Linked DNA regions of Homo sapiens: regions 1, 2, 3, 5, 6 and 7 are each linked to region 4. Evidence: promoter capture Hi-C in 16 types of primary human blood cells and fetal thymus (Javierre and others, 2016). All regions are on one chromosome and are shown on one strand. Each heading gives the region's core, a stretch centred on a gene start or on the middle of the fragment in contact. The rest is flanking DNA. Distances are from core to core; before and after follow the strand shown. Region 1 has its middle 10 kb from the start of MIR1915HG. Region 2 overlaps NEBL (nebulette). Region 3 overlaps MINDY3 (MINDY lysine 48 deubiquitinase 3). Region 4 holds the start of NSUN6 (NOP2/Sun RNA methyltransferase 6). Region 5 has its middle 120 kb from the start of NEBL. Region 6 overlaps PTER (phosphotriesterase related). Region 7 overlaps C1QL3 (complement C1q like 3).

Region 1 (2,700 bases), core at 6-2,505, 2.9 Mb before region 4:
GGAACTCGCAGGCCTCCAAAAGCAGCTGGCTGAGTGCGGCAGGGGGAACCGGGCGGGCCTGGGGGACCCCGCCCGAGAGGGCTGCGGAGAGGCGGAGGGGTCCCGGGCTCCCCTCTTCGGTCACAGGCTGCTGGGGGTCGCGCCTAGGCCCGCGGGTCCCGGGCGCCGGCTTGAGCCGCTCTGCGGTGGGATTGGATCTTGGGCTTTGTCTCCAGTTCTCCAGACGCTTGGAACGCGGGATCTGGCCGGTTCGGCCAGGCCTGCGGAACCTGAAAAAGCCTACCGGGCCTGGAGACCGCAGGGTCTGCGGGGCAGAGCAGGCTCCGGGGACAGCTCCAGGCCCCAGCTCAGGCCTCTTGTCTTTTGTTTAAAGGGATCTCCATCTCTCTCTTCTTTCTCTAACCCCCTGTTTCTTTTCCCCCTCTCGCCCTCTCTTTTTCTCCCTCTCTCTCCCTCTTACACACACACACACACACACACACACACACACACACACACACACACACAGTCTCCATTAGAAACTAAAATGGAATCGGAAGACGGGAGAAATAAGAGGAAGGGGTTTTGGTTTTGTGTGTTGAACAAGGAAAAAGAATGTCTTCTTTAAGATAAAATATTCCTATCTCCTTTTCCCATCTCCTCCAGTTCCCTTTCCTCCCAGTTGGGACCTGAGAAGGGTATGGGCAAAACCAGGCAGGCGCTGGATTCCTCGGATTAACTTTGAGGAGAGAACCCGTTGGGGTCCTGCAGGCCGGGAGAGGACAAGCGGAGAGCGCCTCCCCAGCATCTGCCCTGCGGCCTTTCCCGGCACTTAGGACCCAGTGGGTCGGGGGAAAAGCAGCAGCCGCCTCTCCGCAGCCCCTGAGCTCTGGCAGTGCAGTTAGAAGGAAGACAATTCCTTACTGAGCCTACAAGCGTAGAAGAAAACCTGGGTTAGGTGGGCTGCATGTGAGGGTTTAGACATTAGCTAATGCAAATCACAAGGAAATGTTAATTCCAGTAGGAAAAGCCTATATTCAGCTATCTTCCTTCCCTTCTAAGATGGCCCTCTGCTTGCTTGCGCGCTAGCTCTCACCAAATTAGCTATTACGTGAAATCCCCCTGGGTTTAAGGCACTTGTTTCACGGATTCGCGTACAACCCATATTAACTATGCACTTTCTGCTATTCCTCTTGTGATTGTCCCTGCCTCTTCCTTCTTTGCAGAGAGTATGATGCATTTTATTTTAGTCCAATCGATGCATGCAAATACTGGGATAACACAACCCACACTTCTGCAATGGAGGCTGTTTTCAAAATTGAGTTTAGGGATCAATACTAAGTCGAAATGCTCCAAATTGCACGAATTCACCAAATTCAAGCCCTGGGCTTCCAAGCCCCTATCCTGACTGATTAACGCACTCTCAGATAGCTGTGCTTCCACCGTCCCTGCCTCTCATAACAGGATGTTTTCGTCTAGTGTATTTGGCTTTCCCTAAAGATCACTCGGGTTTGCTTGGAAAAACACGACCCCAAAACGTGTAGTGTGAAACTCTTGTCGATGGCTTCCGTACAGGTCTCCTCTCACATTCGCCTTGCGGACTGCCATCTCCCTTTATTTTCCTGGGACCGAACAGCAGCACCTAGCAGTGCCATGCTGGGTGCTCCGAAAACGTTTGCTCAGCTGAATAAATGCTTTATTGGTCAGGGAACAGCCCTATCCTGTGCCACTGCTTAGCTCCCACGATGTCTTCTTCGCCCAGAGCTGAGCGGCTTGGATTGCAGCACAGCGAGCTCTCTATTCTTTTCCGGCTGCGGCCATGGCTGCGGGGCGACTGGTGCCTAACCGGGTGTGTGTGGGGGGCGGGGGCGGGGCAGGAAAGGGCAGTGGTTGTCCCCTTGTTGCAAGAAATGTTTAAGGCCAGAGAGGTGTGTATGTGGGGGGTGGGAGGGATTCCAAAAGAGAATCAGAAGAGATTGCTGCCCACAGATGTGTATGTATATAGTCTAAAAAGAATATATGGGAAACAACCCAAGTACCTAGGATGCCAGAGTGTCCCTGATTCCTTAATTCCTGCTGTCTGGATCTTCCTTCAGGGTAGATAACTGAAACAAGAAAGAAAAAGGTGGAGAGATAGTAGCAGGCAGTCTAGAGGCCTTCCAGTAAGATGCAGTTATTCATCTAATCACTACCATCAACACGTTTGTGTTGGACCCTTTTTGCATGGAAAACGCTCAGCAGTCAGTTGACTTAGACCCTAAAATATCACCAGGCTAGCAGAGGGCAGCTCTGCAAAGGCCTTCTCCAGCCCCAGTGCACGGAAGGAAGGGAGGGAAAAGAAAAAAAAGAGAAACCATCTGAGTGGCAGCTTACTCTCCTTTTCCTCAAGCCACCAAAACAAACAAACAAACAAATAAACTCAGAATTCTGGAGGCTGGGAGAAGCACATGTAGGGCACAAGAGGTTAAAATGGAATTTCTGTTGTTAGTGCTTGCCCTCTTTAAGATCAGTTTAAGTTGGCTCCAGGAAAAACGCAATACTTGTGGTAAGTGATGAGCAGTAGAAAGGAAACACCGTGTGGAAGAGAGGCTGCTCTGAGTGGAGGCAGCTGACCTCCTCCCCCTTTTCTGTGAAAGTTAGATATATGAGAGATCTGAAGGCTACCACTTGGTCAGTAGGCAGGGGTTTCAGTCTCTGCAAGGGCCTAGATTCTTGGATATT
Region 2 (2,700 bases), core at 8-2,507, 2.2 Mb before region 4:
ACTTGAGCCCAGGAGTTTCAGGTCAGCTTGGACAACATGGCAAAACTCAATCTCTACAAAAATACAAAAATTAGCCAGGCATGGTGGCAGGTGCCTGTAATCCCAGCTACCTGGGAGGCTGAGGTGGGAGGATTGCCTGAGCCTGGGAGATCGAGGCTGTGGTGAGCAAAGATTGTACCACTGCACTTCAGCCTGGGTGACAGAGCAAGACCCTGTCTTAAATAAATAAATAAGTCTCTTTGTTGAATTGATTCATAGTATTCTATTTTTTGTTCTCTGAAATGATAGGTTTATTACAGAGGTCAGCTGGGAAGAGCTACCACTTTAAGTGTAACTCCTGAAATGGAAAGAGTGAAGAAGAATCAAGAAAATATTAGCTCGGCAAGTGGTTTTCTTCATTTTAGACTATCACAAAGGATGTGTCTTTTATTATTTACTTGCGGTCCTCCTTTGCTTGTGAAAATAAAACTTATTTTCAAGAAACATTTGTGATGTGTCCAATAAGTACATGTGTTATTTCAGATGACTTCCAAAAGCTGCCACTGCAAACATTTACATTATTTTGCAACTCTTTGTTATTTCCAGATGTGACCAACAGTTACATTCAAAGCTTAGGTTAAAATTATATTCATTTAAACAACGATTCATGATATGTTAGCCGTGTCTTTGAAGGTGGTAAAGCCTTTGATGTGTGCGTTAAATAATTGTCATTTTCCTGAAATATTTCATTGAACATGGATTGTTAAATGCTGTCTGCAAAACAAAATAGGAGATGGATCATTACCCCCACTAAAGACTTACAGAAAAGAATCCTTAAATACAGTTAACGTAGAATTCAGTTGCTCACCAAAGTCCAGTGGTGTACATGAGTATCTTATCTGAATATTGTGCTTCCTCTTAGTGAATATCAGGGCTTCAATTCTGAATTGTACATAATGCCCTCAGGTCCACAGTAAGTGGTATCCATATCTTACACCTAATCAGTTTCATAAATGGCGGTGTTCTGATGGGCAGTTGTGAAGAACACAGGCCCTTTTCTTAGCATACCCTGAATAGCTGTTTGCCTGAGAATCAGCATTTAGGCTTTGCAATTTACAGCTTCCTAGTGACATTTCTGTCCAGAGATGCTGTGTGTATTTAACATAAATTACCTTTAAGTTGTGGCTGCTTAGAAGAACAACTAAATTTGTTCCTCATTGTTTCTTATTCCCTAAGCAGAGAAAAAAATAAAAAGAAATAGAGTAGCTTGTATGCATTTTTTAACACTCTTATGGTAGAAAATTGGGAAATTTAGAAACAAAATAACTTTGGGTTCTATTTAATAGTTTTGGATTTTCTCTGTTTAACTTAAATATGATAACCAGTTGTGTGTGTGTGTGTGTGTGTGTATGTGTGTATGTGTGTGTTTGAGACACAGTCTCTGTTGCCCGGGCTGGAATGCAATAGCACAATCATAGCTCATTGCAGCTTTGAACTCCTGGGCTCAAGCAGCTGTCTTGTCTTAACCTCTCAAGTAGCTGGGACTACAGGCACACGCCCAACTAATTTTTTTTTTTTTTTAATTTTTACCTGTAGAGATGGGGGGTTTCACTGTGCTGCCCAGCCTAGTCTCAAATCCCAGGCCTCAAGTCATCCTCCCACCTTAGCTTTCCAAAGTGCTGTGATTACAGATACGAGTCCTCGGGCTTGCGCAGGTTTACAGACTAGATAGATAGTTACTATTGGTCATTCACACATTTGTTTAGAGTTGATAGATTTAGGTCATTTAGCAGTAGGCGGTGGAGGAGATCTTTGATTGTAAAATTTTAGGTTGCTATTCTAGAACAAAATTTAATTCACTGAAATAGTTACCTGGAAAATAATTTCAAGTATGTTGCATATGTTTCACTCATTTGTAAAGCTTAAAAATGTTACATCATGTGTTTTCTTATCATTGTCTTATGCCTACTATTTACTTTGCAGGTAAAATATACCCAGGACCATAAACAGATGAAAGGTAGACCAAGTCTGATTTTAGATACACCTGCTATGAGACATGTTAAAGAAGCACAAAATCATATTTCAATGGTAGGGTCCAACCAGATCATTCTTAAAACATGCTAAGGAATGGGCGGATCCAGTGCACGGATGGCATTACTTCACTATTAATCCGATAACTAACAAAGCATGGAAATGTGGTTGGCTTGTCTTTTGAGGGAGGGGCATTTCTAATCACACTGAAATGCAGTGGAAACATTTAGTCTAATAAAATGATTTTTCTCAGTGACTTTTTCTGGTGTGTCTTTATTTCTAACGTGACTACTGTAAACTCATAGTGTGAAAGATATTTGTGTAGACTTCTTTCCAATTAATTCTAAGACAAAATTTGGTCTGTTTGCCTGTCATAAAGGATATGAAAAGAAGTGTGTTTTTAAAGCTGTGTTTTTAAAAATGTGTGTTTTAAAAATTATATTATCAGATGTAATTTACCTACCATAAAGTTTGCCCATTTAAAGTGTTCAATTCAATGGTTTCTAGTATAATTTACAGTTACACAACTATCTCCTGGACCTAATTTCAGGACATAAAAAAAGTATATTTTGAAGTATAAGTTTTTGTAATTATATTAAAAGTGGTATATATTGTTACCTATAAAATTTCAAACTGATTTTAAATAATGCCATTTTCATGAATGATTGCCTGGAAATAGATATCACTTTA
Region 3 (2,700 bases), core at 67-2,566, 2.8 Mb after region 4:
CCACAAACACATTGTTTTTCTAAGACATAATTTAAAATCTATTTAGAGATTTTTCCCCCATTTTTAAAATGCTTGATTTTCATCATTAACCCATTCTTACTATTGTTATTCATGACAGAATTTTTTTTTTTCCAGAGGAAACCATTATAACTTATGCTTTGGTTATTTTTAGAGGAAGAGCAGAAGGAACTCCTTTGTCATACCTTGTGTGATATTTTAGAAAGTGCTTGTTGTGACCACTCTGGATCATACTGCTTGGTTTCATGGTTAAGAGGAAAGACAACTGAGGAAACTGCTAGTATTTCTGGGAGTCCTGCAGAGTCTAGTTGCCAAGTGGAACATTCTTGTAAGATATATTTTTATTTCCTGAAGTTTTTTTCTTGTTCCTTTGTTTTAATGAATCTATTGAATATTTTGAAGAAAAAATTACTTAAAATTTTCATAACATGTATTCTTTTCCAGCTTAAGCTTAATTACTGAGCCTCACTATTTTTTATTTCCATATCATTTATTTTAACTACTTAGAAGATACTACATTTTTGCAAAAAAAAATGCATCTCTTAAACTTTTAAAAATGTTCTGGTTAACTTCTGCTTGATAATAATCTCTTTTGAGCTTTAGAACTCTTATTTAGAAATAATGATATGCTTCAGTTTCAGATGCCTTAATGTTTTGCTTTGGTATTGCAAAAACGGATTTTTTTGGACATCAGAAGATTTCATAAAGTTATCTTTACTTGCTTCCCAGAGCAAAGATGGGGACATTTCTCCTCATTGCAAGCTGTTTCTTTTCTTTCCGAATTATTTGGATATTTTTATACATATAGATTATTTTAAGGCAATTTTAATTATGCCTTAAGTTTTTCATACCTTGAAGATAAGTTAAATAATAGCTGTTTACGTTAAATAATAGCTATTCTCATTATTCATAAAAATTATATATTCTGTGGTTTTTAACTTTTGAAAATTGTTATGTAATTGACCCGAAAGCTGCCAGTGTGAAATGGAGACAGCTAGTGGTACGGAAGCTAGTTAAGAGTTGCTTTTCTGATTTGCTTTTCAGGAATAATCTTGCTAGTTGATGGTTTTTTATAATTGGTAGTCCCAAGTGCTTATGTTAAATAAGTGACTTATTCTACCCACAGAGCATCACATTAACTATCATCTTTGTGGAAAGTTTTCGTAAAGAGATTACGTACCTGAAAGTACACTTCAATTGTATGGGATACACATTTTGCTTTCCATATAGTATTATCTATAAGGTGCTGTTGCCTCCCTGGACTAAAATGCCTCTGTGTTGTCAGTGTCTTTTTTCTCCTACCTCTGCAGTTAAAATGCCTTAAGCCTGGCAAATTCTAATAGTAGTAACATTTGCAAGGAATAATTTTGAACATTTGAACAGCTATATGATGCTTCCTTTTGAAGCCTTTGAAATATGGCCTTTCAAAAAGAACTTAACATATTTTAGAGTTTATAATGACATTTGAAGACAACAAGTGGAAAACAGTCACAAGGATGCTAGTCCAAAGTGTCACTAAGATTGGTTTTAACATATTCTCCAGGTTTTACTGTGTGGGTGTTAGCACACTTAATAGGTTCATTTAGGATATTAAAATTTTGAAAGAGGAATTGTTGATCTTTTGAAAAGGTATTTTAAAGATTTTGTGCTTAAAGCCAGTCTGTATATTGATGTGAGAAAATAGTAAGATCTTTTTATATAACATTTTCCATTAGTATCTTAACAGTATACTGAGTGCATACTATGAAATATGCTATGCAGTTCTGTGGTGATACGTCACGTTGCTATAGGTTAAAGGGCCTTATAATGCATTCCCTTTGGTACTTCAGTAACTAATTTAGATGGGCATATTATATTGAATTACCCTCCAGAAAACATTTTAGTAATTTTTCCAGTTTACTTTGTATCTCATTTTAAAAGTTGCCATGAAGTAAACCATATTTTAAATTTTTTAAATAATGTATACATTTGAAATACTTTGTTAACTGAAAATTTGAGAATTTACCTTAGTGACAAATGAACTGTATTTATATTACAATTTTTATTCCGTGTAACAATCTATTTTACCTGTTCTTTCCTTTATTCCCAGCTTTGTTCTTTTTCTTGTGTTTTATATTTTTTCACCATCCCTGCCTGCTAAGCTTTTTATTTTGCTTGCCTCTTTTCTCTAAATTATTATCTTTATGTCTACTCTTGTAGTATACCCAGTAAAACTATTTAGATAATCTAATGTTGCAGAACAAGCAGTATAATTTGGAAAAGATTAGGTAGAATTTTCATTTTCTGAAAGTTTTAATGTAAAGTGTTTTCCCCTCTTGTTAATATTACTTTCTCTACAAACATTAATTTCATTGGCTTATGTGGTGTGTATAGTTTTGGCTTGTTGGTAATGCACAGTTGTTCGCAGTAGTGAATACTCAGGTTCAATTTCAGTTTGTTTCCCACATAAACCAAGAAATAACTTAATACATTTGGACTGCTAAAGATTTTAAAACGAAATATGAAACACTCACAACTAGGCTTTGGAAAGCTAGCATAATGTGACATTTTAAATTGTAAATAAAAATCTAAAATTTTGACTTCATAATGAATCAATTTTCTTAACTCACCAGTGAGAATTTATATTTGATAGTAGTAAGATTTGCTTTATGAAATATATGTGAAGTTATTCATTGTGATAAA
Region 4 (2,700 bases), core at 92-2,591:
ATTTGTGAGAACATGGAGAGTTGTTTCAACCCTAGGAACCTTGATTTACTCTTTAAAACAGAGAAAATGGGCTGGGCGTGGTGGCTCACGCCTGTAATCCCAGCACTTTGGGAGGCTAGAGAGTCAGATCAGTTGAAGTCAGGAGTTTGAGACCAGCCTGGCCAGCATGGTGAAACCCCGTCTCTATTAAAATTACAAAGATTAGCTGGGCCTGGTGGCACATGCCTGTAATTTTAGCTACTCGGGAGGCCAAGGCAGGAGAATCTCTTGAACCAGGAGGTGGAGGTTGCAGTGAGTCGAGATCCCACCATTCCACTCCAGTCTGGGCGACAGAGACTCAAAAAAAAAAAAAAAAAAAGAGCAGAGAAAATGATAAACAACTTGCAGGTTGTTGTGTGGTATAATGGTCATTCATTATTTTCTACTCTTTCTGGTAAAGAGTTGGTGTGTCATGGAAAGTACCTGTTCTATGTGTGTGTGTCTGTGTGTATAATTCGGTGTGAAAATTAAAGAGAAAAAAACAATAAAAAACCCTTTCCTATACTTATGTGTAAATTACCATGGTGTGCTGCAAAAAACATATGTCAAGGTGATAGAATTATTTTGACTTTCCTGTACAGTTATAAAATGACTCAGTGAGTTTGGTTAGATATCCTCGTTCTTTGAATCTATATCCTTGTCTGCTTATGATGAAAAAAAAGAAAAAAAAATAATGGCGAGGGTCTTCCAAACTCTAAAGAATATGTCAACTATGATACAAGTAGCAGTTAGCCTTATAACTAACTGTAAACACTGTCTGTGGGTTTTAAGTTTTACCTGAGCATTGGATATTAACAGACCATTAGCCCAACTTTCAAAAATATGAACCCTATGAACTTCACAACTGAAGTCAGATCTGTATGCCTGAGAGAGGTAAAATCATGTCATGAAATCAAACGGTGGCTGATGCGCCCAAATTCTGGCCTCATCCTCTAACTGGAGGACATCTGGCAGGACAGCAACTGGGCTGTGCCTTTTTTCAGTCCAGCAACATCTTCCACTCAACCCACGCCATTTGGCTGTTTCCCCATTGCCCCTGGCACCTAGCCCTCCGGTACCGGGAACTAAATATCTTTGACCATCCCGCCCGCGGGGTCTGCCTACTTAACCTGAGGCAGGTGAAAGAGCCTCACGCAGGGTTAGGAACCTCCGGGGGCGTGGCGTAGCGTAACGCAGTGTTGGGGAAACTTGCGGCTGTGGATTGGGGGACCGGAAAGGGAGGGGTGGGCCGCAGGCGCCGGACGTGACGTAAGCCGGAAGCGACTTTCCGCCGAGAAATAGGGGGCGCGTGTTTGGAAATTGATAGAAAAGATAAAGGGACCGAGCTGCTGTCAGCCTGGCTTACTGATCTGCGTCCGTTTCACCACGGATTCAGTTACTAAGCATTTTTTTCTTTTTTTGGTTCTTTGCAACGTGAGTGGCATTGGCTCAGTGATTTCCATGAGCATCTCTACCAGAAAACATTGCCTCGATGAGGTGTGGTGGAAGCCCGGCAGCCCCTTCTAATCGGCTAGGCTTGAGAAAGCGTGTACCTCTGCATTTCCGAAATTAACTCAGCGTGATCGGCAAGATTTTCCTCAGCATCTGGTGTCAAGACACTCGTCACTATTAATTCGGAAAGAAAAAAAAAAACAAAACACCGTTTTCCAGCATTTCTCTTGGTGGAGAACTAAACAACAGGAAAAATGTCTATTTTCCCTAAGATATCTTTGAGACCTGAGGTTGAAAACTATCTTAAGGAAGGCTTTATGAATAAGGAGGTAGGTCAAGTAAAGATGTTAGTTGATATTTTGCAAAAACTCAAATATTCGCACACTCGAGAGAAATAGAAATAAGTATAAAGGGAAATCTTGACAGCCGTCGTTCCTTACTACTTGTCTATCAAGTGTAAAAATACCAATATGTTTCTACAGGTATTAAAGCTTACTGAGATACGAAGTGAATAAGGTATATGTTTTAACATTTAGGAGTGGAAAAGAAGGGAAAAAAGGCATGTGCCTGTCAGGCATGGCACAAAGGGTTACAAGGATGAACAAGAAAAGGTCCCTGTCTTCAAGAACTCGAATCGAATTTTAAAAGAGCGCTGGCTCTGGCACTCAGGTGAAAAGGTTTCTGTAATTTGTTGAGTGCCTCTTAAATGCCAGCAGTTGTGCTAGGAGATTTGCATCTTTAATCTTCACAATCTTTTTTTTCTTAGAGGTTTTTCCTCTTTTAATAGACTTGAGCAGAAAACTGCTCAAGGAATTGTGTAACTGATCCAAGTTGACACAGCTATCAAGTAACTATTGAAATCTGGAGGGAAAGAGTTCAGGTGTAATGAACAAAGGTACAGCTTTTGAATCTCAGGCACATGATTTGCATTCTAGTGCTTTGTAAATTACGTGGCTTAACCTAGATTTTTCTCTTCTGTGAAAAATTGAGAATGGTTAAAAATATCTTGCCAGGTTGTTTTAGGATATTAAACGTAAGTGAATACAACTAGCATTGTTTTGGCATGTAAGTCCTCAAAAAATGTTAATTTTATTTGCTAAAGTCCTCAGTAAATGTTGATTATCTTTGATTGCAAAGCCTGTTGTCTATTCCATTTTACCATGCTGCCTCTAAGCAACTTTGTTTTTTTTCAAATCTTTAATTTTTTAGTCAAGTTAAAAATATTTTACC
Region 5 (2,700 bases), core at 200-2,699, 2.1 Mb before region 4:
TCATTGATATTTACAAACGTTTCCTGGTTGCATGTACTTCTTTCTTTCGAAAGAAATGTTTTGGCTTCCAACAGTGCTACATAAAATGATTTCTGGACCTCTACATCTTTTTGGTATGTTGATTTTTGTAAAAATTTTTAAAAAGTTAGCTCTTATGATCTAACTATAGTGTCACATCTATATTGTAACTCAGGATTTATTCACAAGTCATATTTCCACTGTTTATGTTCACCTCAGTGGGACTGGGAGGAAAGGAGCCTGAAAATCTTGCAGGATAAACTTGTTTTGTGCATTTCACCTGCCAAGCCTCCTTCCAGGAGTGTCTGGGCCACAGCTCCAGCACTTCAATGTGGCTTTTACCTGTAACCAACCTCTAGCTGGAAAAACAAGAAGCAGGCCCAGGGGGGATTTTTCCATCTTCTGTGATTTACATCCTAGAAAGACGTGGAGGTTGGGTAGGAGGTTGGGTCCCTGGGATGATTTATTTTCAAAACCGGCAAACAAAACATATTTATGGTATAAGAACTATAATTATATTGTGCAGCCTCTTAGGATCATTCAAAGGTTTCATGTTTGGAAAACACTAAAACATTTTCAGAGCTTTGAACAGGGCTTCTGGTCTTGATATAAGTTACTTGATTGTCACTGAGACACTTCAATAGTAGTTTCATAATATACATAACCTTTAAGAATTTGACAGTCAATTTAATGATATTCATGCACAGATCAAAGAGCTGGATTATGATCCACTGGGGAGGATGGGGCTTAGCAGTAAGTGAGAAGCCTTAATGCCGAAGGTGACCCTGACAGGTAAGTGATTATCTGTGGGACGGGATCATCTTTGGCAGAGAAGAGAAGGAAGAAAACATTTGAAGCCAAGGCAGACCTGAAACTCCGAATATCTCACTTCGGTGAAAAAGTCAAAGTTTTAGTTTCAAGCAGAAATGTATCTTTCAAAATTATTTTAGGATCAGGAAGTTATTATTCCTTACTTATTAATAATAATTATCTCAGAATCAGGAAGTAGAATCTCCGCAGGTCGTCCTTATTTATTTTCTCATGCCTTTGCAGTTTAGTGATGTCTCCAAAATAATGCTGCACTCTGTTTTGTAGCTTAGCCTTTCTTGATTTAGAAAGCACTGGGAAAATGCTGAAAATTGACTTCATGCGTTATGGAATGTATCAAGGGATACATTCCTTGATTTTGGGATTCTATGATTCCTCAGCCATTTGTCGATTTTTTTTTTTTTTATGTTTGAGAAACTTACGGAAGTCAGAGGGAAACTGAGCAGACCCTCTGTTTTCTGCTGAATACTACTGAGGCAGATGAGTTTCAGCCGGCAGTATCTCTCCACTTCCAGGCACATTACTCAGACTCACGGGTTTTCAGGCAGTCGGGGAGCTTTAGTCCACCCCCACCTTCAGGAGGACATCGCATAAGTGTGCCATTTTACAGATTGGAAGACGAGGACCTGAGCCAACTGGGAACTTAGTCAAATGGCAGTTGATTTGAAGGGCAGATAAAACCCCAGCTCCCCTCTCTGTCTTTTGCCGTTGTGTCCCTTCCGTCCCCCACTCTGCTTCCCATGCTATACTCCAAATCTACCTAATACACGGAGGACAGGAATGAGCGCCTGTCTGAAGCTGCCCTTCTTTTTCCTTTAATGTCCCAGTAGGGTCATCAGCCCAGCTATATGCCCTGAGGAGCGTGATCCCAAGCAGTGGCCTGACTTTGATCACCCAAACCACAGCAAGGATGCTTTGGAGTAGCAGAAGTCTTCATGGAGTCTAGACTCTCCTATCTCAGGCCAGGAAGTCAGTGTCTCATTTTCTTTAAGACTCTGCACCTGCAAATTAAGATAAAAGAAGAACAAGGTCTTCACGGGATGGATAGGAAGTCAGAATATCTTCTCCTGTTCCAAGTCCAGTACTTCCTTTTCCCAAGTAGAGTATAGTATGGCGCTCTAGGCTGCCATCTGGTCCTCTTGTAGACTGGGCAGTTAGATTGCCTTGGGACTTCTCATCTGTTTTTTTAATGGCATTTTAACTTGGATTTCTTAAACATCTAATACATATTTCTTCCACATGTGATGCTACACATGATGCCAGCAGGGCTCAGACTAGGGCCTGTAAGGCAGATTTGTGGCATGTTGCAATAGATCGTCCCTTTCTCAAGTGTGTGTGCTTCATTTTTGTCCTTCCTTTTCTTTCCTTCCCATGCCATTTTTTTTTTTTTTTTTTTTTTTTTGAGACAGGGTCTCACTCTGTCACCCAGGCTGGAGTTCAGTGGTGTGCCCATGGTTCACTGCAGCCTCAAACTCCTGGGCTCAAGTGATCTTCCCATCTCAGCTCGCTGAGTAGTGGGGACTACAGGTGTGTGCCACCATGCCTGCCTGATATTTTAAAAAAAAATTTTGTAGAGGTAGGGTCTCACTATGTTGCCCAGGCTGGTCTAGACCTCCTGGACTCAAGCAATCCACCCACCTCGACCTCCCAAAGTGCTGGGATTACAGGTGTGAGACACGTGCCTGGCTTATTTTTCCATTTTTAAAATGATGTGTTGCTTTTCTACTTAAAGTAACCCCGCCTTACTGGAGAACATTCAGAAGAGTACAGAGAAGAAAAAAAAATACGTGGGGAGATTCATGATCAGGAATTGTGGGTGTTGATGAATATTTTTCCAGAGTATTTTTACACACA
Region 6 (2,700 bases), core at 176-2,675, 2.2 Mb after region 4:
GAACCCCTACTCATCCATCACACAGCTTCAATAATACATTTCCACTTAAAACAGTTTTAAAGAGAAAAGTGTTTTACAGCCCATTCAAAACCCCAAGTTTTACTTATATACTCTTACATACCCATGTAACAACCCTCTAATATTTCTGACTACCAATTTACTACGTAAGATTCTTTTAAGGATTAAAAAAAACCCTATTATTCTATTCTGAGGGAACATTGTAAAAGCTCGTCAGAAGCAAAGATAGTATGCATTATAGATATGGACAGATAATGTCAAACTGAGGCCTTCTGTGCCTTCACATTCCCCAATATTTCTTTGAATATAAGAGCTTTGCTAGCTGGTTGTGGTGGCTCATGCCTGTGATCCTAGCATTTTGGGAGGCCGAGGTGGGAGGATCACTTGAGCCTTGGAGTTGGAGACGAACCTGGGCAACAGAGTGAGACCCCATCTCTAAAAAAAAATGTTTTTAAATTAACCAGGTGCATCCCTGTGCCAGGAGCCAACCTGGTCTTCCCGAGGGGTAGTGCCCCAGTGAAGACAAAAGCACGAGAATAAAGTTCCCTGTAGGTCCTCTGTCCAAAAAAAAAAAACCAGGCGTGGTATTGAGGTATTGAGCACCTGTAATCCAGCTACTCAGGAGGATCGCTTTAGCCCAGAAGCTCAAGTGAGCTATGATCACCACCACACTCCGGCCTGGGTGACAGAGCAAGACACCGTCTCAAAAAAAAGAAAAGAGGCCGGGTGCGGTGGTTCATGCCTGTAATCCCAGCACTTTGGGAGGCCGAGGCGGGTAGATCACGAGTCAAGAGATTGAGACCATCCCGGCCAACATGCTGAAAATATACTAAAAATATAAAAGTTAGCTGGGCATGGTGGCACGTGCCTATAGTTCCAGCTACTCGGGAGGCTGAGGCAGGAGAATCGCTTGAATTCGGGAGGCAGAGGTTGCAGTCAGCCGAGATCGCGCCAATGCACTCCAGCATGGCAACAGAGCGAGACTCCATCTCAAAAAAAAAAAAAAAAGAAAAAGTTTTTAGCTTCCTAGGCTCACATCTTTTCTCACAGACCTTTCTGTTTTCAGTTGATAGTATCGTGATAATTGTAAGACACAACATATTTAAGCAAGATGAGCACAAGATACCACTTTATAGAAAGAGCAGATAGGACCACAGCATACTCTAGCGATCCTCTGGCCCTTTTTGATGGTACACGTAAGTACATGGACTCATCATAGTAAGTTTCTGATTCGGAGAGGAAATTTTTGGTAAAAATATGTGCGAGTTGTTACAGCAAATATTTGGATGTTTGTCATTCAGACTGCAAGGTACGCTTGATTATGTACATTTTTTTCTTAACTGCTTGATGAACTCTATCCAAGTCATTTAATAATGTTGCTTCCCTTTTTACCTAATTACATAAATGTTTAAAGTCACGAGCATTAAGCTCTCCTCCAAGTAATGTTAGTTAAAAAGAAGTTCCTGAACTGAGGAGATTCTCCAAAGATGTGTAGTCATCACTTGGAAGGTCAAATTTAACAATCAAAGAAAATAACTCCAAAAACAGTAGCTTCCAAACAGACCATTACTATTGCAGTGGAGCATTTTGGGCTCAGTTGTATCTCCCTGCAAAATTTGTCTGTTGCAGCCCGAACCCTCAGCACCTTAGGATGTGGTTGTATTTGCAGATAGTCTTTACAGAAGTAATTAAGTTAAAAGGGGGTTGTTAGGGTAGGTCTCAATCCAATAGGACTGGTGTCCCTATAAAAGATCAATACCCAGACATGCATAAAAGGGAAGACGGCCATCCACAAGCCAAAGAGAGAGACCTCAGAAGAGGCCAACACTGCTGACACCTTGATCTGGGACTTCCAGCTGCCAGAGCTGTGAGAAAATAAATGTCTGTTGTTAAAGCCACCCAGTTTGTGGTATTTTGTGATGGCAGCCCTAGGAAGACAAACATAGTGAGTAATCAAGGTCATCTAATCTAAGCTACAGAAATGGCCCTTAATTACACCTGGGGGCTCTACATTTTATTTCATCTTATTTTTATTGTTTTTGAGACAGAGTATCACTCTGTCACCCAGGCTGGTATGCAGTGGCACAATCTTGGCTCACTGCAACCTTCGCCTCCCGGGTTCAGGCGATTCTCCTGCCTCAACCTCCTGAGTAGCTGGACTTACAGACGTATGCCTGGCTAATTTTTGTATTTTTAGTAGAGATGGGGTTTCGCCATGTTGGCCAGGCTGGTATCGAACTCTTGACCTCAAGTGGTCCGCCTGCCTTGGTCTCCCAAAGTGCTAGGATTACAGGCATGAGACACCACGCCTGGCCTGCAGGCTCTGAATTTATAAAGTGAGAAGAAAATCTGTCAAAAGAGCTGGCCAGGCACATGCAAGTCAACCTAATTCTTATTTACTTATTTAATAGAGATGGGAGTCTCACTGTTGCCCAGGCTGGTCTTGAACTCCTGAGCTCAAGCAATCCTCCCGCCTTGGCCTCCCAAAGTGCCGGGATTACAGCATGAGCCACCGTGCATGGCCAACCTAACACTTTTAAACAAATTCTGATGGCAATCAGATGACAGCTCAGGGCATGGGCTCTGACCAAATAAATCTTTATTTCAATTTCTCAATTACATGGTCGGGCTTTATCTGTCCTCCAAACTGTTAGAGAGCAAGACTGATAACATCTAACCTTT
Region 7 (2,700 bases), core at 12-2,511, 2.1 Mb after region 4:
TCTTTAAATATCTGGAAATTGCAATTGCATGAAAAAAGAAGGGATTAATACATTTAAATTAGTTTAAATGTTGATGTCTAGACTGCTGAGCCTGTGTATATTACACTGATTTGAAGAAAATAACACCATGTAGGTGTTCTATGTGCGTTTTGTTTTTAAAATTATTTCACTGTTTGGGGTGTAAAATCTTCCTTTGTATCACACTAGCACACACATTCCATGAGGATCAGGAAAAATAGTAAGGTAAAACAGCTGACCTTATAATGTATAAGTCTTTTCATTGGTAATATTAAGCTGCTACTTCTGCAAAAGGTATGCAACAGGTAATTCAGAAAAATAAATCTATAGTGGTAAACATTTTTTTTTAGTTCAGTGTGGACTATTTTGGAAAATGGTTACTACACTACTACAGTTAAGGAATTTTATCTCTAGATTAGAACTATTTTGTCAAGTCCAGTCTGCAGGCAGTTACAAATGAGAAATCTTTTAAAATCTTTTTATTAATTTTAAATAATACTTCACTCTTGCTTTTCAATTATATTCTGGTCTGATCACTTCTTAGAATGGCAGGTTCCCTCTCTGAGCTGACTTAATTTTTCATAAAACAGAAACTCAGAGATCCATGTCAGTGTAATGTTCTATGGATTAAGTGGATTTTGAGAAGCACAAAAATTAAACTAAAAATGCAGTTCCCTCTAAGAGAGAGAAATGCTTCTGGACTGTAACCATATGAGAGCCATTTTATTTATACTTTGTGTAGAATGTAAGATCACAGATGGAAACATCAAAGACCAGTAAATTAACCTGATGTGCCACTTAACCTTTTGTTTATGATTCCACAGAAGTACAATGAAAATGAAATTACGAGAACATCAGTAGCAATTAATTAAATTACAAATGTCACCATAAATATGATCTCTAATGATAGATCCTCACTAATAAGATAATGCTAAAACTATGAAACCTATTGCAGACACAGAAACATATCCCTAAAATGACCGCAGCTCTCATACTCCCCATGAAGCCATCAACCTAAATTTAATCCTACCATTTGTTGAAAGCCCATGACAGTGCATATTAAAGGTAAAAGTTCAACTCAAATAGCTTTACATTTGGAAAGAGGAAATCTCTTTAATGTTGATAATCCTTTTAGCAGAAAACATGAAGAAAAATTGCTATTTGAATACAATCACTCTAATGCCACTATAATAAATAAGCCACTCGAATGAAAACTAATACTGTTTCAGGATTAAAAGCATAAAATAATTAAAGACCAGTTGGTACTCTTAAAAATTTATTAGTTATGGCACCGATGCCCATGAAATATTTTTAAAAGGATGAGTGGTTTGTGGGTTGGTATTCGCTTATTAGAGAGATCAATGACATGTCAAATTCATAATCTTTTTAGGGTTAAAGAAATACGGACTAAACATAAAGCAGAATCTAAATAGTTATCTTGTAATAAGAAAAGATATTAGAGTAAATTCAGGTAGAAATCGGTTGATTGCGCTGAAGGAAGGATGGATCTTATTCCCAGACAGAATGCTGAAATCACTGTACATTTAGGAATCTGGAAACAGCCTCCAGGGTGAACACATTGCCTTCCTCAATAGTTTGATGGCTTGAAAGAATTGTTGAAGTCACTGAGCTGAATACTAGAGCTTGAAATTTCAAGTCCTGTTATATCTTTAGAGTAGGATCAGGTGAGCAGCCATACCAAAATCATGCCAGGTACACTGGAGTATGGCAATTATTTAATTGGGACAGTCTTACGGTACAGTATAGGTTAAAATCTTACAGAATTACATTCATTAAAAAGCAACCACACTGGCTTGATCCAACAAAGGTGGTAGAAACTGTGAGGGTAACCTTTCAGTCTGTGGAATCACTCTAATGCATTCGCAGGAATTTGTGGTTACGCCTACTGAATAAAAATGGTGACGTTCACTCGGTTTTGTGGTTACACCCTGGAGAATAAAAATGGCATTATATTTTTAAAAGGATTATTGTGTCTAAATCAAGTAATTTTAGTATGTCCTGTTTCTCCAATACCTTCATGTAGAAAACCATGTTAAAGCCCAGTAACCATAGAACATGTCCTAAATACCCAAAGCACTGAATAAAATATGTCTGGTTATTAGTAATAGCTGAGGAGTATATTATGGGTTGATAACTAATGTATTACTAATATAGCTCATGAATATTTTGTTTTTAATTTTTTTCACCATTAAAAATCCAAAGATGAGAAAAAAACACAAGTCATAATAGCAATATCCTTCTTGTAGATTTGTTTCCCTGGGAATTAATGGCTAGATGAAATTAATGAATCAAAGCATTCAACTCCTACAAACTCATGATTAATCTTTAGAAAATATTATGAAGTCAAACTGCGTCATTATTTAATGGTCAAAACGGACCACTTTACTAAATTGGCATATATATTGGAGTCAGTGCTTCCAAGCATAATTACATGGTATATTGCTTTCATTATATTAGTGCCTGTTAGTACAGCGTTAAGCAATTCTAAATCCTTTAAGCCATTTTCTCCTTTTGCTATGTGATACCCAGAAAGACACTTTAAAGATACTACTCAAATGACTTTACAAGTTCAGCAGTGTTAAAGAGTCTTCTTTTTTTAACATTTCAGCATTAACGTGAGACTATATCACAAGAAAATTTAATTGGAAAACTCATCATTTA

What was found. Contacts are between HindIII fragments. The CHiCAGO score rates a contact against its expected background, and 5 or more counts as called.
Region 1: a fragment that was not itself captured here is called in contact with the fragment with the promoter of NSUN6 in region 4 in 2 of 17 cell types (total CD4 T cells and M0 macrophages); the score reaches 6.7 in total CD4 T cells.
Region 2: a fragment that was not itself captured here is called in contact with the fragment with the promoter of NSUN6 in region 4 in 1 of 17 cell types (endothelial precursors); the score reaches 7.5 in endothelial precursors.
Region 3: a fragment that was not itself captured here is called in contact with the fragment with the promoter of NSUN6 in region 4 in 6 of 17 cell types (total CD8 T cells, activated CD4 T cells, M2 macrophages and 3 more); the score reaches 15.7 in total CD8 T cells.
Region 5: a fragment that was not itself captured here is called in contact with the fragment with the promoter of NSUN6 in region 4 in 2 of 17 cell types (M2 macrophages and M0 macrophages); the score reaches 8.5 in M2 macrophages.
Region 6: a contact is called between a fragment that was not itself captured here and the fragment with the promoter of NSUN6 in region 4, in 7 of 17 cell types (naive CD4 T cells, activated CD4 T cells, non-activated CD4 T cells and 4 more). The highest score is 9.4, in naive CD4 T cells.
Region 7: a contact is called between a fragment that was not itself captured here and the fragment with the promoter of NSUN6 in region 4, in 1 of 17 cell types (non-activated CD4 T cells). The highest score is 5.6, in non-activated CD4 T cells.

What each region holds. Positions count from the first base shown.
Region 1 is chr10:21,506,330-21,509,029 of GRCh38, reverse strand. No RefSeq gene overlaps it. Among named protein-coding and RNA genes, the nearest start is that of MIR1915HG, 10 kb to the right of the region's middle. The HindIII fragment of the contact is 3,213 bases long and covers 1-2,700 here.
Region 2 is chr10:20,813,306-20,816,005 of GRCh38, reverse strand. It overlaps NEBL (nebulette), which reads left to right. Exons shown (of 28, transcript NM_006393.3): 22 at 289-381; 23 at 1,963-2,067. Among named protein-coding and RNA genes, the nearest start is that of NEBL, 83 kb to the left of the region's middle. The HindIII fragment of the contact is 1,290 bases long and covers 613-1,902 here.
Region 3 is chr10:15,839,072-15,841,771 of GRCh38, reverse strand. It overlaps MINDY3 (MINDY lysine 48 deubiquitinase 3), which reads left to right. Exons shown (of 15, transcript NM_024948.4): 4 at 173-346. All of the region lies in intron 2 of LOC124902383 (a long non-coding RNA gene), which reads right to left. Among named protein-coding and RNA genes, the nearest start is that of MINDY3, 20 kb to the left of the region's middle. The HindIII fragment of the contact is 1,691 bases long and covers 471-2,161 here.
Region 4 is chr10:18,650,228-18,652,927 of GRCh38, reverse strand. NSUN6 (NOP2/Sun RNA methyltransferase 6) reads left to right here and starts at 1,341. Exons shown (of 11, transcript NM_182543.5): 1 at 1,341-1,799. The coding sequence starts at 1,725. RefSeq lists an enhancer at 1,102-1,201. The HindIII fragment of the contact is 3,002 bases long and covers 1-1,963 here.
Region 5 is chr10:20,773,454-20,776,153 of GRCh38, reverse strand. No RefSeq gene overlaps it. Among named protein-coding and RNA genes, the nearest start is that of NEBL, 120 kb to the left of the region's middle. The HindIII fragment of the contact is 4,812 bases long and covers 1-2,700 here.
Region 6 is chr10:16,442,331-16,445,030 of GRCh38, reverse strand. All of the region lies in intron 1 of PTER (phosphotriesterase related), which reads right to left. Among named protein-coding and RNA genes, the nearest start is that of PTER, 6.7 kb to the right of the region's middle. The HindIII fragment of the contact is 8,086 bases long and covers 1-2,700 here.
Region 7 is chr10:16,515,983-16,518,682 of GRCh38, reverse strand. The region is part of intron 1 of C1QL3 (complement C1q like 3); the gene reads left to right. It also overlaps a transcript of PTER not described here. Among named protein-coding and RNA genes, the nearest start is that of C1QL3, 4.5 kb to the left of the region's middle. The HindIII fragment of the contact is 4,225 bases long and covers 1-2,700 here.